Regions from separate parts of the Homo sapiens genome. Here region 2 is linked to region 1. Evidence: promoter capture Hi-C in 16 types of primary human blood cells and fetal thymus (Javierre and others, 2016). All regions are on one chromosome and are shown on one strand. The core of a region is centred on a gene start or on the middle of the fragment in contact, and the rest is flanking DNA. Distances in the headings are between cores, read along the strand shown.

What was found. The method cuts DNA at HindIII sites, captures the fragments that hold promoters and counts their contacts. A CHiCAGO score of 5 or more calls a contact.
Region 2: a contact is called between a fragment that was not itself captured here and the fragment with the promoter of GALNT1 in region 1, in 2 of 17 cell types (M1 macrophages and M0 macrophages). The highest score is 5.5, in M1 macrophages.

What each region holds. Positions count from the first base shown.
Region 1 is chr18:35,580,053-35,583,360 of GRCh38, reverse strand. GALNT1 (polypeptide N-acetylgalactosaminyltransferase 1) reads right to left here and starts at 1,621. Exons shown (of 12, transcript NM_020474.4): 1 at 1,499-1,621. RefSeq lists a silencer at 1,880-2,579. The HindIII fragment of the contact is 12,017 bases long and covers 1-3,308 here.
Region 2 is chr18:35,462,704-35,466,011 of GRCh38, reverse strand. The region is part of intron 1 of ZNF24TR (ZNF24 transcription regulator); the gene reads left to right. Among named protein-coding and RNA genes, the nearest start is that of ZNF24TR, 2.8 kb to the left of the region's middle. RefSeq lists a cis regulatory region at 2,851-2,868 and an enhancer at 2,787-2,931. The HindIII fragment of the contact is 1,160 bases long and covers 969-2,128 here.

The DNA of each region.
Region 1 (3,308 bases), core at 372-2,871:
CAGTTATCACCAGCACGCTGAACAAAGGCTTCTCAGGTTTCAAAGTGCACACAAATAACTTGAAATCCTGGTAAAGCAGATACTGATTCAGTTGATGTGCAGCGGGGCTTCACATTCTGCATTACTTGAGTCTGAGGTGACAGGGATGCTGCTGGTACACCATCCACACTTGGAATAGCAGGACTCGGAGTACCATGGAAACATCCTCAAAGGATCATGTAAAATGTCAATTCCAATAGGGCAAGGACATTGTGTCTCCCTTATTCACCATGTACCCAGAACTTAAAACTGTGCCTCATAGACAGATCGCATTCAGTAAATATTTACTGACACAACAAATGTATGTATAATTTAGACCAGGGCTGTTCAACTGTAGCAAAGAACCACATTTAGCTATGGAACACTTGAAATGTGGCTACTGTGACCGAGGAGCTGAATTTTTAAAATTTAATTTTAATAGTCACATGTGGTTAGTGGCTCCCACGCTGGACAGTCCAGGTCTGGACACAGATGTGATGTAAAGAGGACTGGACTAACAAGGTCTAGGTTTGAATCCCAACTCTGCTGCTCAGATTGTGACCTGAAAAGTTGCAACTTCTTAGGGCCTTCACTATTTCATCTGTGAAATGACAAGACCTCCTAACTCTCAGCGTTCTTGACACGATTATAAAGCAATGTATTAAACATAAGATATGATCAAAGTGACATTCTCTGCCCTCCAGAAACAGTTCAGAAAGACTACTTTGCCTATTGCCCACTTGACCAAAAAAATGCCAAGTGAGTTTGGTAGACGGGTTGGTTAGCTCAGTGGCTTTGAGAATGAGGACAAGGTCACAAATCTGGGGAGTAAGGGAACCTCATCTAGCAAGGCTGACCAGATAAGAGAAGCAATGACAATGCAAATCATCCCAATTCCTGGTAAATGCTTAAATGGGCAACGTATTGATTATGGATGAGTAAATGACATCTCATTCATTCATTCTTCCAGGAAAAGCGGAAAAGCTACTACATTACCTAAAGCCCGCTACTTCCCAACCACAAACATTTGCTAATTTAGGTCCGGGTCCTCCTCGGGGGCAGCGGGCCGGGAAGCCCCCTCCCCCGCTGCCGGCGTGTCTTCCCCTCCCCCGTGGCGCCGCGAGGGTCAGGCTGGCACCGCGGTTGCAAGTACCACACGGCCGAACCCAGAAGCCATATTTAGCTTTATTTTTGTCAATAAAACAAACTTCCGTCTTCTAAAGAAAAACGGTTCTAACTCAATGTCAAACTAGGACGGAAACTCGCTGCTCGCCAAAGCTGCCAACCAGAGACGCCGCGTGTCCAACGGCACCGGGGTCCCAGACCCGAACCCGCGCCGAGCGTGCCCGCGCCCCGGCCCCAGGCAGCGCCGGCCACAAAGGGACCGGGGACGCGGCCGCGGCGGGGCCTCTTTCTCCACCTCCGACCCGCGCGCAGCGCTGCGGCTCCGGGACTGCCCAGCCGCGGGCGATACACTCACCTCGCTAGGCGCGCGGCGGCGGCGGCGGCAGGCGTCCTCCGGGCCGGCCGCGGCGGTCGCGGCCGGTCCCGCGGCCAGCGCGCTACTCTCGGGCCGCCGTCCGCCGCGCGCTCCTCGGCCACTGCCGGCGGCTCCCCCGGCGGGCGGGCGGGTCCGGCCGGGCCCCGCTCCGCCGCGCCCGCCCCCGCCTCCGCGCCCGGCTCGGGTCGGCGGCTACTCCGGGCGCCCCGCTCGCGGGCTCGGGCGGCGCTACTCCGGGCCGCCCCGCATGCGCGCCGCCTGCCCGCTCACTTGGGGCTCGTCGCGCGGCGGGCGCCGCAGGGCGCCCGCAGGCGCTCGGGCGCGGTCCTCCCTGCGCTGCGTGCTCGGCGGCAGCGGCGGCGGCGGCCCGTGCGGCTGCGCGGGGGAGGCGGGGGCGCCGGCGCTCACCCGGATGCGCGCCCCCTCCGCTGCGGCGAGCCCACCGCGGGGCCGCGACGCTCCCCTCGGGCTCGGGACTCCGGGGTCGGGCGCGGCGCCCCTCCCGGACCGACCGCCCAGTCCCGGCCCCCGCTCACACGGCTACGGGCAGGGCCGGGCCAGGCCGAGAGGTGCCCCCGACCCTGGGTCGGGACAAAGAGGCTGCCGCAGCAAGTTAAAGACAACTCGGGCTGTTGCGCGTCGAGCAGGTCACGGGGTGGGAGGAGATGGAGGAGCCCTCACAGCGGATCGGCTCCCGGGCCGAGCGCGGGGCCGCCCCAACCCGGTCGGCTGCCTGAGGCGGCCGCGAGCGCGGGAGCTGGAGCGCTGTCAGCCGCGCTGAGCCTGCGCCTGGCGACCGCGATGCAGGAGGCCCGGGACTGAGGGAGGACGGCGAGAGCGGAGGCCCGCGACCCGCACCGCCGGGGCAGGCACCCGGGTCTCGGGGGCAGCAACGCCGGGGCCCTTGCAGAACGGGGACTGTTTGGGGAAGTGGCTCCCGCACAGTGCCCGGAGAGGGGCCCTCCCTCTGTGCCCCCTTGGGAAACACTGCTTGGTACAATTCCAATACCCAGCTGTACCCTGCCCTGAAGATAGAAGACAAAACCCTGGCTCTGTCACTCACGCGAGGCATAACCAACCATTCTTTTAATAAATTAATTTTCTACTTAAATAATTCAGAGGTTTGTGTCTTATTGCTTGCCAACCAAGAGCTGCAATAAGAGATTACTTAATATTTAAGTGGTCCCACTTTTAAATTTATATTACCTCTCACATAACCAAAAGGCTGTCCGAAAAAAAAAAAAAAAAACCTGAAGATTATCTCTGGAATTTTAGTATCCTGTTTTTGCTTGTCTACATCTTCCAAGTATTCTAAAATAAAAGTTAAAAGTTACTATTTTAAAAGTACTTATATAATATTTTGAAACAAAGTCAATCATGACTAGCCTGTTACTGTTCCACAAGGAAACTTCACTTTGGAATAAAGTTGTCATCGTTAAAAAATACTCTTATCTTGGGAGAAAAGATTGGCAAATCATATATCTGTTAAAGGACTTGTAGCCAGAATGTATGAAGAACTCTTACAACTCAGTAATAAGACTAATAGTCCAATTTTAAATGGGCAAAACAATTGAATAGACGTTTTACCAAAGATATTTAAATGATCAACAATTACATAAAAAGGTGTTCAACATCATTAGTTAATAGGGAAATGCAAATTAGAAGCACAACAAGGAAGTTCTTGACACCCACTACACTGGCTGTAGTACAAAAGACAGACAGACAATAGCAGTGTTGGTGAAGAGATGGAGAAATTAGAACCCTCATACGTTGCCTATGGAAATGTAAA
Region 2 (3,308 bases), core at 299-2,798, 120 kb after region 1:
TGATAAGAGGTCAGTTCTGGTATTGGTCTGCAGGATCCAAAAGAAAAACTCAGACACTTTAAGAGAAAAACAATTAGCTGGACTTGAGAAATCCTCTTAAGACCAAACTCAGGTCCAGTCTGCTCTGACTGGAGTTTGACTCTTTCTTAATCTGGTATTAGGCATGGTTTAAAACGACCTGTAACGTTGAAAATATGCTCTTCAGAGCCAGAAGGCAGTCCCTGTAGGTGAGGGGGACCCATTTTCCCCCATCTCCCAAGTTAAAGCATGGATCTGTCCAAATTTTAAATGTGTTTCATGATTGATTTGGCACCTGGTGGAGGGCTAAACATGTTTGCAGTAAGAAATCTCTTAATTTCTGAATCCATAGTCATTGGAAAAAGATACCAGATATTTGTTACTCTTTCCAGTGACTGTAAATTGGGAGAGTTTAACTTAGTAAAAATAAAGGGTAACGAAAGAAATCAATGGACTATGGAACTTGACCCCATTATCAAATAGGACAGATATCCTGGGGAGAGATTACAAATTATGCCCTCTTACAAATGCATGAAACAATAGTGTCATTTAAAATAATATTCTATCTGATGGGAATGTGTGGGCCTTATTTGGATCCTCATTCAAACAACAACAAAAAAAACTTTAAAATTTTGAGACATTTGGGAATCTGATATATTTTGATATTTGATAATATTTTGGAATTCTCACAAATAGTTGTGATTATGCTATTGTAATGTTAAAATAATTCATATTTTTAGAGACACCTACTGAAATATTTATGGATGGAATGATATGACATCTGGGATTTGCTTCAGAATGATATGAGAGAGAGGAAGTGGATGAGAATCGTGTTGAAATAAGATTGGCCATGAGTCAGTTATAGTTGAAGCTGAGTGATAAGTCCATGGGGGTTCTTTATACTATTCTGCCTTTGGTATATGTTTGCATTTCTTCATAATAAAAAAGCTTTCAAAAAGAATGAGATATTTTTATTACTAAAAATTGTGATGAAATCTTACCCAAAGTTAGTGCTTTGCATTAGCTTGCACTGGCTTACAGATGCTGAAAGTTTGAGAAATGCTGCCTAAATGGTATGCGGTCTTGAATAGAGGAAGTACCCAATTCCTAAAACATCTAACAAAGAATATAGAAGAGAAGAACCATGGACAGGTAAAGTTGTCCTGTAAATGTTCTTAATAGAGGTCTTCATTGTGTGTTCAGTTGTCCCGGAGGGCTGTGTATTTAAGAGTATTTTCTCTGTAGAGGTTAGGAAGCCTGAGAGTGAGAAGACCAAAGACTTCAGCTTTGAGGTTCTAGTGGGGTATAAATCTTAATAGAGAGGGCTGCGGATGCATTGAATGACTGACTATGGCTTGAATAAATACCTGTTGTTATAATTCCTGATAGAATCTGCAGTATTCATTTATGTAAATAGAGAAGGAAATTAGGTTATCAAAGAACTATGCACCTGCACAAATTGTTTGGCTTCAAGGAATTGCTTTTGCTGAATTTCAACAGGGTTTATGCTTTTGTGCCCATATTAAGGAATTGGATTGAAAGAGGTCAGGAGATATGGACCTACAAAAATGCCTATTACATTTGTCTCAGAAATGTCCCACAGAACCCCACTCCCCCACCCCAGTCCTGTAGGGTGAGCTTTTTCATTCAGGACCCAGACATGGAGCCTGATAGCCTGGGTTTGAATCTCATTTCTGCATCTCACTAACTGTAGTCTTGGGCACATTACGAACTTACTCTTGAATTCTTAGTTTCCTTATCTGTAAAATGAGTGTTATAATAATGTCCACCCCACGAGATTGTCAGGATCAAATAAGAAAATGTCAGAGAAACACTTAACTCGGGACTGGGATCACCCACATCCCCTCTGGTCTGTGCATTAGAAAGGCAGAGTTTTCCTGACTTGTATGTTCTGCTTGGTTATATTTCTCATTTCCTTGGCTCCTAGGACTCTTGGCTCATGCCCGCTTGTAGTAACTGAATAACATCATATGATAGATGTTTCCATGTGCTCATCTTATTGCTGGCTCTATCAACTATTTTCCTTGCCTTCTTCATTGCTTATTTTGACCATTTCTTTTCGTCCTTTATTCTCTTATTCTAATAAGCTTGCTCAACTTTTTTATGAGACAAGGGAAGGAGTAAATAACTAGCTAAAGAAGCAATGATCTGTGATTGAGGCCGGGGGAGAGAGAGGGGTTGAGGGATTTGTGGGGTGAATAGCAGAGGACTTTAATGGAGGAACTCCTCTAGAATAATGAGGGACAGAAAGAGCCAGTAGAAACCACCCACTGGACCTCTTAAAAATCACTAATGTTTTATGCCTTCTTTGGTATTCACCATGTATACTACCATGTTTCCTATGTAATAGCAAACCTTAAAACCCTAAAAAAACAAAAAAGGGGGGCTAGTTGTTTACTTGTTTTGATGACCAGCTTGAGCAGGAAAAGGAGGGATCCTTCTTCCTGGATCCACAGAACTGGATCCAGCCTGGTTTTCTTCCATAACTCAGTGGCCTCTGTCTACTTGTACTTCTGTTCCAACTGCCGTCAAAGCCTTTCCTGAGAAGAGTCAGTGTTTTCCTGGCCTACAGGATGCTGACTACTGACAGGTGCACAGTGTGCACCAAACACACCACTCGCCTCCCCTGGGGTCAGGAAGATGAGTCACATCCATCAGCCCTGGTGGCTTGGAGCCTTGGATCTTTCTAGTATGAATCCAGGAGGGCATAGCCTGGGGTTCTGCAGTGTGGAATACTGCAAGGGCTTTTATCAGGGAGCCAGCCAAGGCCTTGGTGACTGATATCTCCCCTAATAACATCTGGAAAGGAAATTGCTCACTAGAGATAAAGAAGAGAATTTCTGCTCTTCGCAACGGAAAATTATTACAGACAACATTAGACCTCAAAAATGAGCTTCCTCAAAGTACGCATTTGTACAACTCCCCCCGAACTCCTTGCTTGGCTGTTTGGAAGGTTTTGTAGAAAAACAGTAACCTGGCCAGGCGTAGTGGCTCATGCCTGTAATCCCAGCACTTTGGGAAGCCGAGGCGGATGGATCACCTGAGGTCAGGAGCTCAAGACCAGCCTGGCCAATGTGGAGAAACCCCATCTCTGCTAAAAATACAAAAAATCAGCTGGGCGTGGTGGTGCATGCCTGTAATCCCAGCTACTCGGGAGGCTGAGGCAGAAGAATCACTTGAACCTGGGAGGTGGAGGTTGCAGTGAGCCGAGACTGCACCATTGCACTAGGCCTGGGCAACAAGAGCGAAAGAGAAAGAAAGAAAGAGAA